4 separate regions of the Homo sapiens genome follow, and all the other regions are linked to region 2. The links are contacts of gene promoters, found by promoter capture Hi-C in blood cells and fetal thymus (Javierre and others, 2016). All regions are on one chromosome and are shown on one strand. The core of a region is centred on a gene start or on the middle of the fragment in contact, and the rest is flanking DNA. Distances in the headings are between cores, read along the strand shown.

Region 1 (3,357 bases), core at 846-3,345, 7.9 Mb after region 2:
ACATAACAGTGTTCTGAAAGAATGATATTGGCTTGTTTAGCATGGGCTGTTTTAGTTCGGAACCCCTCAACTGGCTCATGCATTAAGCTGAATGGATTTTGCCACTGCTTTTATCTAGTGGAGTTATTATAGAACTGCACTTAGCACAAAATCATCACTTATAAATTCAATTTATCTGTATTTTCTCAGCCTACAACAATCAGAGTGGTACTAACCTGGCACTAACAAAATGGAAGCCCTAACAGCTCATAGCAGGACTCCATTATAGACACCACTGAAAGGAAATCCAACATTGATATTCTCTAAGAATGCAATACTTCTTCAAATAAATCCATGGACTACTCTAGCAACAGAGGTAAATAGAGTTTTCCTTGCTTTCCTTTTTTTTAACTTTCCATTTTGATTTAATTTAGTACTGAGAACAAGCAAGTATTAAAGTGATAACATGTTTTCCAGAAGAAAATATATTTTTAATCCTTAAATAAATAAGAGTATTGCTTTTATTGTTGTTGCCTGCTTCTAGTCAGAGTTCACAAAAAATATATACTATAACTTTAAGTCTATTTTATATACTAATAAAGTGGTTTTGTTTAAAATTAAATATAAATTAATTAGAAAGAAACCTTGATAGAATTACTTTCATAACTTTTCACTGGATACCCCTCTATATATCCTTGGCAAGCCAGGTAAATATACAATAAATAAATTAACAGAAATTACAAGGAATTCCAACCATATTTAATAATGAGTAGGTATCATCAAGGTATTTCTAGAATATCTACTGTCTCACACATTAGGAAAAAAAAAAAACCCAAACAGCTCAGTGTAAGTGTAGTGTAAAAGCTTAGGCTCTGAAGCTGGATTGCCTGGGCTCTACCACTACTAAGCTAACAGACTTAAAACAAGTTACTAATACTTAACATCTCAGGCCTCGGTTTCCTCATCTATAATATGGGCGAAATAAAAATAACAACTTCATAGTGTTGTTCTGATGTTTAACTGTTATTGTTGCAAAGTACTTTAAAAATTTCCTGTCACATTTAAAAAAACACTCAATAACTATAATTATTAAACGTAATGACAGATACAAAATTTATAGGTTGAACATTCCTAATTTGAAATGCTCCAAATTCTAAAACTTTGAGTGCTGACATAATGCCACAAACGGAAAATTCCACACACAAGCATTTAACATACTTCATTTTATGAAAATTTATTTAAAATATTATATAAAACTACCTTTGACTATGCGTATAATGTAAAACAAATAAATTTCATGTTTAGACTTGGGTCCCATCCCCAAGGTATCTTTGATTATGCAGATATTCCAAAAATCCGAAAATACTTCTGGTCCCAAGTATTAAATACTCAAACTGTATTTATTTATAACAGCCTGAAAAATAAGAAACCAATAAAGAAGCTAAAATGAAAATGATAATCACCTGTGCTGATGAAGCGCTTTCCTGTCAATTTCCCAAGCTAACTCAGTAGCAAATTCTGGCTGGTCAGTGTGGTCCACAGGATCAGTAGCCAACTGTTCTCCATCAAACTTTGCTTCCACTACAAGCATATGCTTTGGACGTTTGGGGAAATGCCGACCTGGAGAAACAGAATATATAGATTAATCAAAAGTGTACAAAAATCAAACAGGATCATTTACCATGTGTTTTTTTGTTTGGCTGGTTTTTTTTTTTTTTTGAGATGGAGTCTTACTCTGTTGCTTAGGCTGGAGTTCAGTAGCGCAATCTCAGCTCACTGCAACCTCCGCCTCCCAGGTTCACGCGATTCTCCTACCTGAGCCTCCCAAGTAGCTGGGATTACAGGTGCACACCACCAAACCCAGCTAATTTTTGTATTTTTAGTAGAGACAGGGTTTTGCCATGTTGGAACTCCTGACTTCAGGTGATCTACCTGCCTCGGCCTCCCAAAGTGCTGGGATTACAGGCATGAGCCACCATGCCCAGCCTAGCATGTGTTTTTTTAAAACTAATGATCTGTTAAGTGTGGTTGACATGCATTCCATAAGCTACCTCACTAATGCAGGCTCACATATACACTCACTTCCATAATTCATAAGAAACATGAATCAAATGGAAAGCTATAATTTATAAATGTGTGCTTCTCAAACATTAGTGTGCACATGAATCACCTAGGGACCCTGTTAAAATGTAGATTTTGACTCAGTAGATTTAGGGTGGGCCTAAGATTCCGCATTTCTAACAAGATCCAAGGTGATGTGAATGCTGCTGTCCTTGGTCCACACTTTGAGTAGGAATGATCTCAACAACATCTGGAATTAAACACTTAATGTGATTACACGAATTTTAGGTACTACTATTGCACTACTTAATAGAGAACAGTCATCTGAAGAGCTGGGAAATAAATTAGTAAAAACAAATTTGCCTGCAGCTTAATTTTTCTGTTAACTCAGTTAAGAATACTTTCCTGGTGAAACCCCGTCTCTACTAAAAATGCAAAAAATTAGCCGGGTGTGGTGGCATGCGCCTGTAGTCCCAGCTACTCGGGAGGCTGAGGCAGAACAGCTTGAACCCGGGAGGCAGAGGTGGCAGTGAGCACTGCACTCCAGCCTGGGCAACAGAGCAAGACTCCATCTCAAAAAAAAACAAAAACAAAAACAAAAAAAAAAAAACAGAATACTTTCCAAATTAGCTAAAGAAAAATAGCCACATGGATTCCTTCATTCTATTCTCAAGGACAACACTGTACACTATCAGGAAATATTCAAATATTCTATCTACACATCACTTTTCATTTGTACTGCCAAACCCCATTTCATCAATGTTTACTGAAGACATATTCAGAGTCAGGTATTTTATCAGATGGTGGGGTACAAAATGAGTAAAACAGAGTACTTGCTCTAAAAAAACTGAGGATCTAGTTAAGAGAAACAAACCAAAAAAAACTGAAAATAGGAAGCTAAAGAACATCAACGAAGAAGCACTAAGAATCTTGCACTGAGTCAACTAGTTCTCTTGTTTATAAATCTGTTAAGGTGGATCTTATTGAGGGGAATTTTATCCATTGATTAATGAAGAAATCCCTGCTGCTACTCACCCTGGTACAAGCTACTTGTGGGGGAAGTGTAGGAATTAAGCTGTTAAAAAGACCTTGACTGCTAACCTTGTGAGTTAAAGCCTGAGGCTCTCATTGAAACTCTGTATTAGGAGTATTAACACACATCGCACAGCTCTCCCAATTAGCATTAACAGAGGCCCATCTCAGGACCTCATTTTCTGCTGCTCCAAAAGATACCTAGCTTCCCCAAATGAATGTCATATATGTCAAAGAACCTATATTTTCCATATTATTATAACTAGCAGCTTCCAACAAGCTTGA
Region 2 (3,261 bases), core at 555-3,054:
CATCTGCCCCCTTTTCAAGTAAATACTGAGCAATCTCTTTATGTCCTTTGTAACATGAAATCATCAAGCACGTATGCCCATGTCGGTTTGACACTTCCAAATCAGCTTTGTGTTCTACAAGGTACTTCACTATTTCCAAATGGCCATCGAAACACGCAGCTCGAAGAGGAGTTGAATTGGTTAAAGTCGTGTTGTTGACAGATGCTCCATGATTTAACAAGGACTGGACCACCTTCAGATGTCCTGCTGCAGAAGCGGCCCATAAAGGGGGAGCCCCCTCAATGGTTTCGCCATCAAAATTGACGGAGCCCCCAACTTCTATGGAGGCACTGCATTGCTCTAGGAGGAATTCCACCATGTCAAGGTGCCCATACCTGGCGGCCATCAAGAGTGGCGTGGCCCCATTTGTTTTTTCAGAGATCAAGGAGGAAACCTCCTCTTTGGATTTGCTTGCCAACAATTTGGTGAGAAGCCGGAGTTTGCCATCCCGAGCTGCGTTAAATACTGCTGTCTTTAGATCCATTTATGTCCAGTTGAGAGGCTGTGCTTTATTTATCTTTCAAAGCAGAGCTCCAGTTTAACTCTATCGACACAGGCAAGAGTCACAGGAACCAAAGTCCAATGTTAATTGCTGCACCCCAGAACGGATACACAACCACGAAGAGTATGTTCCGTCCTACTGCTTTCCAACATCTGACAACCAGGGCACCAAACTAGAGAAAGAAAAAAAAAGTAGCAGCATTTAATTTTCTATAGAAGAAGGCAAAACACTTCTTAATTTCCACTTCTGTGGGAAGAAAGGAATAAAAGCTATACTTCAGGCACTACTCCATCCCACACACCCCCCCCACCCCCAAAGAAAAGGTGGTAAAGAAAAATACAGAAGGATACACAGAGACCCAAATGTTCTGGTCGCAGGCAGTCTCCTCCATGTGCGGAAAATTTAAACACTACAGGCAGCCCGTTTTCTCGCCTCCAGCTCTAACCAGCCAAGCTTTGTTCTAGTTTTGCTTTGCACACGCCCAGGGAGAGTACAACCGAAAGAGGCAGGAGACTCGGGTTCAGAAATGTTTCTCTTTCTTGCAACTGCAGGAGAGCTGGCCAAGGGCGCCAGGCTGGAAGGCCTGAGGCCGGGTTTCGAGAAAGAACAAAAAGGTCGGACACACCAAACCCCGGCTAAGGCCAAAACTGTGCCCCGAAAGATTCTCTTTCCTTTAAAACTACTCACGGCTCTCAGGAAATCCGCCTGCCTTTTAGTCATTAACTTCGCCCGCCCCATTTCGATCACCCCCCACCCCCCGCCAAGGGATGATCCGCAGGTTCCTCAAACCACAGTCGCCCCAACACAACCTTCCCCTCTCCCTGTTCCAGACAACGGCAGCCCCCTCCCAATCTCCTCCATCGACCACAACCCCCTCCCGATGGGCCAAGCTGTGGCCTCCAGCCCGCTGCCCGCCTTCGGCTCCCCCGGCGCCCTCCTTCCCGCCCAGGCCTTCCGCGGGCACCTCAGGCCCCGGCCCGAGCCCTGGCAGGCCGCTGCCGCCGCCACTACCTGCCCGGGGACTAGTCCTCCCCGCCGCCGCTGGTCACTCGGGCTTTGTCCGTCCCCTTCAAAGGGAAACCGTTGTCCCCACCGCCGCCCGGGCCGCCCTGCTCCGCCTGCGGCCGCACAGCTCCTCCATGCTCCGCGCCCCAAAGGAATGAATCCGGCCGCGCTGTTCGCCACGCCCCGCCACCCGAGCTGCCTCCCGCCCTTAGTCGGCTCGGACTGCAGCGGCTGCAGCGACTGCTGCGACGGATGGTGTAATGGGCTGCGAGCCGGGGGCCGGACAAGCCTGAGCGTCACATCACTGACTGTGCCGCCACGCCATTGGGCCGGGGGAGGGCGGCGGCCGCGGCCAGCAACAGCCTAGGCGCGGGGCGGGGCGTCGCGGCCGGGGTGGGGCGACGGGGAGGGGGCGGGGCCTGAACTACTGGGAGGACGTGCCTGCGTGCAACGCGCTGGGGGGCGGGGCGCTGCGAGGGGGCGGATCTGTGCCCATCGAAGCGGCCCGAGGCAGCTCGAGTTCTGAGATCTCGCTGGCTCTTCTCCTCTCGGATTTTCGGGGTGCTCCCTTAGGGAATCTTTCGGTCCCATCTCAGAGACCCCAGAAGGGAAGTGTATTAGTGCGTTTTCACGCTGCTGATAAAGACATACCCGAGATTGGGTAATTTATAAAGATAAAAAGATTTAATGCACTCAGAGTTCCACGTGGCTGGGGAGGCCTCACAATCAAGCCAGAAGGGGAAAGGCACGTCTTACATGGCAGCAGGCAAGAGAGGAAAATCAGAGCCAAGGAAAAAGGGAAACCCCATATAAAACAATCAGCTCTCCTGAGACGTACTCACTACCACCAGAGCAGCATGGGGGAAACAGCCTTCTTGATTCAATTATCTCCCACTAGGTCCCTCCCACAATATGTGGGAATCATGGGAGCTAAAATTCAAATTTGGGTGCGGACCAGTATTACCCTCACACACGTGAAGTCTCTCGGACTAGTCTTCCGTCCTTACTTTGGTGGGCCCTGGAAATTACCAAGCTCGTAATTACACCTCAGAACACACACGGAGGAAACTGAAATTTCAGAAAATGTGATTAGTTTTGGAGGCTGTCAAACTGACTCTCTTTCTAAAGTAGCCTCTAAAAAGCATAAAGGCTACGAGGAATGGTAAACCCTAAGAGCAATGTAAAGTCAATGAGGTCAGGTTCTTGAGCTCTGAGTAATAAATCGGGAACTAAAGCTTAAAAGGTTATATATATGAATGAAAAGAATTACTTCTTCATATAGTAGTTGATAAACCTCTGGAATTTGATGCTAAAACCTACGTTGCATTAAACTAGGATGAAAAAGTTTAAATGTGTTTGGGAAATAACGCCCATAATGAATCCTGATGAGAAAACAGAATTTTTGAAAATGGACCTTCAATCACTTTGTTTGAGGGAACTTAAGCTCACATAATTCCTTAGTACCACTAGGAGAAATAGAATATTACAGTAGGCAGTCTGACCCTCAGCATATGTAATCCATAACGTTATGTTAGAAGTCATGCAGCACTAAAAACATTTATAAAAAATCACAACTTCATTTTTGTATATTGTAGTGTTGTTCAGAAGTTTATGTAGTTTTGCATAATTGAAATAATTTTCATACAACTATATATTTTGCTTTTCCTTTCTATACTCTAAACGTTTCTTATGTTTTTACAGTCTTAATAATTTTT
Region 3 (3,274 bases), core at 775-3,274, 5.9 Mb before region 2:
CTTTTGGAATTCTGCAGAATATCTCTGGTTCTCATACCATAACTCTGAGAGTTAAAAAACCTGTGCTTGTCATTTCTCTTTATAACCACTCAAAAGCACGCAAAAGAATCCATCCCACACCAGTCTTTCTAGTCATCTTTATAACCATAGCAGTCAAGTGTAGCAGCCACTTGGGGCCCCAAGGCACAGGCTTCAGTTGGCACTTCATCAGGATCAACCACAGGTAATTGCTTAATTGAGATGCCCAGCATGTCATGAATTACATTTCCCTTTGGCAAGGAGCTAAAGCTCAAAACCTCAATCAAACTGACCTTTAATCCCATCTTTGCAGGTCTATTTCTTGGGACTACTCCCGGGACAGGGAAGGCTTAATAAAAAGAATTGTTAACTATAATAGAGGATTAGAGTAATGAAGGATTCACTAGCAAGAAGAGAACTTTAAAGAATATAGCAACAGCAGCTATAAGGAGCTAACCTTATAACTAACTCTTGGGTTGAGAGACAGAGTGCCCAATGAAGAACCTCCCCAATTCCTCCCAGGGCTAAGATCTAGACGTTTTTGGAGAGGGCATGACCTGGCTCACTGAATGGCAGAGAAGTCACCATTGGGCTACGTCTGCAAAGCTTGTGGAAGATGTGCCCTCTGCAACTTGCTGCAAATGCCTCTAGGGTGCCAGGGAAGTTATTCATGGGGTAGTGTCTCACCTCCTCTACAAAGCTCCTAGAGTTGGGCATGTGAGAGGAAATTGCTAGTTACTGAGCACTATAGGACCTTGGCAGTGGAGAAAGCCAGGTATGCTGCAAAAGCTTATCAATACACAGAAATCAGGAAGCAAAATCCTTTTTTTCTGTAATGTCTCTTCAGCGCCCTCTGCTGATAAAGCTTCAGTCCCAGAAGGCAAACGAAAAACTGTTTAAAAGGCTCAGATCCGTTTTTACAGTGCAGTCAAAAAGGGCGAATTTGGAGCTGAGAGGCAATAAATCAATAACTGGCAGAAGCATCACTTCTCAGATTACACTCATGGATTTCGTAGTCAGATGTTTCTACATGTGCCTGGACGGCCCTTTGTCAGTCTCCTTTCCCCCAGGTTTTAACAGGCTGTCACCAAAGGAGGAAATAGTGAGCCCGAAGAGAATGTGCAAGCCCTCTTCTCTTGCATTTCCTCCAGCCCGTCACCAAGTACTCTTCCAGGCACGCCAGGCCCGAGTGTCCTAGGATAGGAAACCTGAGCAACAAAGGGAAGTGGGGTGTAAGCTCAACCCCTGTTGGACGTGGGGGTGCTGGCGCCTGAACGCCCCCGAAGGCCTCAACTCCCAGAAAGCTGCCTGCCAGGTCACAAGAGCCCTGTGAGGTCTTCCTATCGCCGGGACACTGGGAGGCAGGCGCGGGGCGGGTCCGCCGGGCGACGCGCTGTGATTGGGCGCCGTGGGGCCCGCCCCCTCATCTCGGAGCGTCGGGAGGGGGCGGGGCCAGCCGCCCGCTCGGCTCAGGCGCTGCGGGCGCCTATTGACCCAGCGGCTGCTGCGCCGCCGCTGTCTCCTCCTGCTCGTGGCGGGCGGTGCTGGAGCGCCAAGTGGCGCTGGAGAACCGGCGCTTCCTTTCGCCGCTTCCGCCGCCATCTCCGCGTTTGTGGGGCGGGAAAGAGGGAGGGGGCTAGCGGCTGCAGCTGGAGCGGGCTTCTCTCCGGGGACGGTCCTTTCCTCCCTGCTCTCCTTTTCCTTCTTTCCGCGTTGCCGCCGCCCGCCCCCTGCGCCTCCCCGCGGAGCCTGGGTCCGGGAGGGGGAAGGTAGGGGCGGCGGGGGGCGGGAGAGTCTGGCGAGCGGACGCTAGCTCTGAGGAAACTCATCAATCCGTGAGCCCCGGAGTCCGGGGTGCACATCGGCCCAGCCGCAGCGTCGGCGGCGGCGGCGGCAGCAGCACGAAGGGGCTCAGTCGGGGTAGGCGGGGGCGGTGCCGGTGCCGCGGGGGCGGGCCCGACCGTCCCGCCCAGAAGTTGTAGGGCTTGGCTCCTCGCGATCTTGTTCCTTTCCCCTCCGCTTCTCTGACCTAGCTGCGCGGCCCCGGCCCGGGAGCTGCCGAACCCGCGCCTCCCCTGGGTGAGGAGGACACGCCTGCCCTCGTCGAGAAAACTTTTCCTGCCGACTCAGTTGGGGCGGCGGTGGCAGGAAGTGCGGGCAGCGACCTCTCCTCCGCCTGCCCCGCGCGCCCTGCCGGAGGTCGGCGCTGAGCTTGCGATCAAGTTTGTGGGGGCCCCCCTTCCCAGTTGCCGGCGAGTCTCGCCTCGAGAGGGGCGCCCGACCCCGGGGAGGGCGGCAGGCCAGGGCGAAGGCCAAGGGCGTGTGGTGGCGCCGGAGACTAGGTGCGGAGCAAGGCGGGGACTCGCACCCGCATCCGAGAGCGCGGAGGTCGCGCAGCCCGGGAGAAGGGAGCCTCCGGCGGCTGCTTCCTAGAGTCCACAGTGCGCTGTCTCCTTTGGCTGAGGAGAGTGTCCTGGCCCCGAGTCTATCGAGGAAAATGAAGTTAAGCCGCCAGTTCACCGTGTTCGGCAGTGCGATCTTCTGTGTGGTGATTTTCTCGCTCTACCTGATGCTGGACCGGGGTCACTTAGACTACCCCAGGAACCCGCGCCGCGAGGGCTCCTTCCCTCAGGTAAGCACCTGGGAAGGGGGCGCGGGGCTCCGAGGGGCCAGGCGTGCGGGCCCCTGGTTAGCGGCTGCTACCCAACCTCTTCCTCCCGCCGCGGCCCCACACCCGTGCTGGGCGAGGCCAGGGGCTCTGTAGCTCTCGGACGGCAATGATCACCTCCTGGGAGCCACCTCGCCCGGGCGCGCCAAGTTAACAAAGTGCTGGGCGGCGTGCGGCGGCGGCGGCGGCATCATCCCGCTCAGGAAAGTGGCCATGTTCCGGCATTCGCACCCGGCCTGTTGGGGTGGCTTCGGGCACCTGCTGGCGGGGGAACGGGCGCGGCGTGAGGCACCCCCCGCCAGCCCGGGGCCCGCGTATCCCGGTGGGGTCGTTCTCGGCTCTCACAGGGTTAAGCCGCCCGCACCAGCCCAGAGCCCCTGAGCGCACGGAGTCGCGGAAATGGATCAAACCGAACCCACCTAGGCTTTTTTTTCTTTTTCTTCCCCGCTGCCTCTGAAGAGAGAGAAGTTTATTTCGTGTTGCGGCCCTTTTAGATGTGAATCTCTAGGTTGATTTTAGTGTCGTCATTCTTCAGCTATTACATCTGGTTTGTTTGTGGCAGACAGGGGGAACCGAGTGGGGAAGCGC
Region 4 (2,984 bases), core at 1-2,500, 6.1 Mb before region 2:
CCCATTTCTACAAAAATACAAAAAAGTTAGCCAGGCTTGGTGGCGTGTACCTGTAATCCCAGCTACTCAGGGGGCTGAGGCAGAAGAATCACTTGAACCCAGGAGGCGGAGGCTGTAGTGAGCTGAGATGGTGCCACTGCCCTCCAGCCTGGGCAACAGAGCAAGACTCCATCTCAAAAACAACAACAACAACAACAACAACAACAAAAACCTCTCAGCAATCCAAGAATAGAATGGGAACATCCTCAATATGATAAAAGGCCACTTGTCTTAGTCCATTAGGACTCCTATAACAAGCTCCCATAGACTGAAGTGGCTTATAAACAACAGAAATTTATTTCTCGGCTGGGCGCGGTGGCTCACACCTGTAATTCCAGCACTTTGGGAGGCCAAGGCAGGTGGATTACCTGAGGTAAGGAGTTTGAGACCAGCCTGGCCAACATGGTAAAACCCCGTCTCTACTAAAAATACAAAAATTAGCCAGGCATGGTGACATACGCCTGTAATCCCAGCTACTCGGGAGGCTGAGGCAGAATTGCTTGAGCCTGGGAGACCGAGGTTGCAGCGAGCTGAGACTGCCACTGCACTCCAGCCTAGCCGACAGAGCAAGACTCTGTCAAAAAAAAATAGAAATAAAAATAAAAGAAATTTATTTTTCACAGTTCTGGAGGCTGGGAAGTCCAAAATCAAGGTGCTGGTAGATTCAGCGTTTGGTGAGAGCCACTTCCTGGTTCACAGACTGCAGTTTTTTCACTGTGTTCTCATACGGCATAAGGGGATAGGAGCTCTCTGGGACCTCTTTTATAAGCACACGAATCCATTAATGAAGGCAGAAGCTTCATGACCTAATCACCTCCTTGAGATCCCCCTCACAATGGGGATTATGTTTCAATGCTATGAATTTTGGAAGGGACATAAGCATTCAAGCTATAGCACCACTCTATCACACTCAATAATGAAAGATTCAAAGCTTTCTTCTTAAGATCAGGAACAGAGAAGGATATCTGCTTTCACCACTGCTATTCAACATCATAATGGAGGTCTTAGCCAGTCTAAGAAGAAGAAAAGGTGGAAGGAGTTACATATAAATTCAAAAATAATAAAACTGATCTATATTTGCAAATAACATGATTGTCTACATAGGACAATTCCAGAGAATCTACAAAAAATTTACTCAAATGAATGAATTTAGCAAGGTTGCAAGCATCAAGGTCCATATGCAAAAACCAACTGTATTTTTACATATAGCAGTGAATAACTGGAAACTAAAATTTAAGAAAATTATCACTTATAATGGTATCAATTATTAAATACTTAGATATAAATCCAACAAAATGAGCAACATCTTCATGCTGCAACTACAAAATGCTGACAAAGGAAATGAAAGAAGACCTACATAAATGGAGACAACCTGTATTCATGAATTGGAAGACTCAAGATGTCGATTCTTCCTAAATTGATCTATGCATTCGACACAAACCAAATTAAAATCCCTTCAGGTCTTTTTGTAGAAACCAACACGCAGCCTCTAAAAGCTTTACGGTAAAGTTAGAATAGCCAAGGCAATTTTGAAAAAGAATAAAGTTCAAGGATTCATATTACCTAATTTCAATACTTATAAGTAAAAATAACCATGATAACTCAGTACTGGCAAAATTATAGGCATAAAGATCAAGAGAAAAGTACAGGAACAGATTTACATATATGATCAACTGACTTTTGACAAAGTTAATTCAATGGGGAAAGGAAAGTAGTCCCAACAAATGGTGCTAGAACTACATATACATTTGAAAAGAAAATGAGCCTTGACCCTTACTACACACCATATACAAAAACTAACCCAAAATGGATAATGTGCCTTGACATGAAAGCCAAAACTAGAAAACTTATAGAAAAATCCTAAGAGTAAATCTGCACAACTTTGCATTAAGCAAAGAGTTCTTAGAACACAGAAGCACAAATCATAAGAAAAAGTTGGTAAGATGAATTTATCAAAATTAAAAGCTCTTCTTTTAAAGTTAGGAAAATAAAAAAAAAACAAGCTTCAGATTGCAGTGTGTGTGTGTGTTTATGTATCTCTGTGTGTCAAATGAGTTGTATAAAGAATGTATTAAAAAATGCTTACAACTCAATAAGACAAACCCATTTTTTTTTTTTTTTTTTTTTGAGACGGAGTCTCGCTCTGTCGCCCAGGCTGGAGTGCAGTGGCACGATCTTGGCTCACTGCGAGCTCCACCTCCCGGGTTCACGCCATTATCCTAACTCAGCCGGAGTAGCTGGCACTACAGGTATCCGCCACCACGCCCGGCTAATTTTTTGTATTTTTAGTAGAGATGGGGCTTCACCGTGTTAGCCAGGATGGTCTGGATCTCCTGACCTCGTGATCCGCCTGCCTCGGACTCCCAAAGTGCTGGGATTACAGGCGTGAGCCACCGCGCCAGGCCCACCCATTGTTGTTTGTTTGTTTTTTAATGAGCAAAAAATGTCAACAGATACTTCACAAAGGAAGACATACACTAGAGCAAATTCTCAGCACCATTAGTCATCTGGTAAATGCAAATCAAAATCCCAGTATGATACTACTATATACCCACTAAAAGGGCTAAAATTTAAAAGACTGAAATAACCAAGTGCTGAGGATGATGTGGAGCAATTGGAACTGTCATACACTGCTGATGGATATGTAAAATGTGACAACCACTCTGGAAAACAGTTTGGCAGTTTCTTATAAACATCCATGTATCATACAACCCAACAAGTTCCATGTCTAGGTATTTACCAAGAAAAAAAAGATGTTCACAAAAATTCAAAATAAATGAATGTTCATTGAATAAAGGAATGTTCAACAAATGAAGGCTATTTATTAATAACAGCCCCAAACTGGAAACAATCCAAGTATCTGTAAATAGGTGGAATGGTCAACAAACTAGTAAATCAATACCAAGGACTTCTATTCAGCAATAAAATGAGAACCCGTTAAATAC

The links. Contacts are between HindIII fragments. The CHiCAGO score rates a contact against its expected background, and 5 or more counts as called.
Region 1: a fragment that was not itself captured here is called in contact with the fragment with the promoter of FEM1C in region 2 in 1 of 17 cell types (total CD8 T cells); the score reaches 5.1 in total CD8 T cells.
Region 3: the fragment with the promoter of MAN2A1 here is called in contact with the fragment with the promoter of FEM1C in region 2 in 1 of 17 cell types (total B cells); the score reaches 5.8 in total B cells.
Region 4: a contact is called between a fragment that was not itself captured here and the fragment with the promoter of FEM1C in region 2, in 1 of 17 cell types (non-activated CD4 T cells). The highest score is 6.6, in non-activated CD4 T cells.

What each region holds. Positions count from the first base shown.
Region 1 is chr5:123,416,917-123,420,273 of GRCh38, forward strand. CEP120 (centrosomal protein 120) reads right to left here. Exons shown (of 20, transcript NM_001375405.1): 2 at 1,443-1,599. Among named protein-coding and RNA genes, the nearest start is that of CEP120, 4.8 kb to the right of the region's middle. The HindIII fragment of the contact is 2,509 bases long and covers 842-3,350 here.
Region 2 is chr5:115,542,971-115,546,231 of GRCh38, forward strand. It overlaps FEM1C (fem-1 homolog C), which reads right to left and starts at 1,805. Exons shown (of 3, transcript NM_020177.3): 1 at 1,553-1,805; 2 at 1-713. The coding sequence starts at 523. RefSeq lists enhancers at 1,354-2,120, 1,662-1,956 and silencers at 1,386-1,555, 1,606-1,655, 1,756-2,095. The HindIII fragment of the contact is 1,787 bases long and covers 993-2,779 here.
Region 3 is chr5:109,687,903-109,691,176 of GRCh38, forward strand. MAN2A1 (mannosidase alpha class 2A member 1) reads left to right here and starts at 2,025. Exons shown (of 22, transcript NM_002372.4): 1 at 2,025-2,650. The coding sequence starts at 2,516. It overlaps MAN2A1-DT (MAN2A1 divergent transcript), which reads right to left and starts at 3,197. Exons shown (of 1, transcript NR_186543.1): 1 at 1-3,197. RefSeq lists enhancers at 681-1,349, 1,109-1,208 and silencers at 1,319-1,608, 1,619-2,138, 2,169-2,378, 2,789-2,888. The HindIII fragment of the contact is 3,132 bases long and covers 882-3,274 here.
Region 4 is chr5:109,403,896-109,406,879 of GRCh38, forward strand. All of the region lies in intron 1 of PJA2 (praja ring finger ubiquitin ligase 2), which reads right to left. Among named protein-coding and RNA genes, the nearest start is that of PJA2, 4.6 kb to the right of the region's middle. The HindIII fragment of the contact is 565 bases long and covers 969-1,533 here.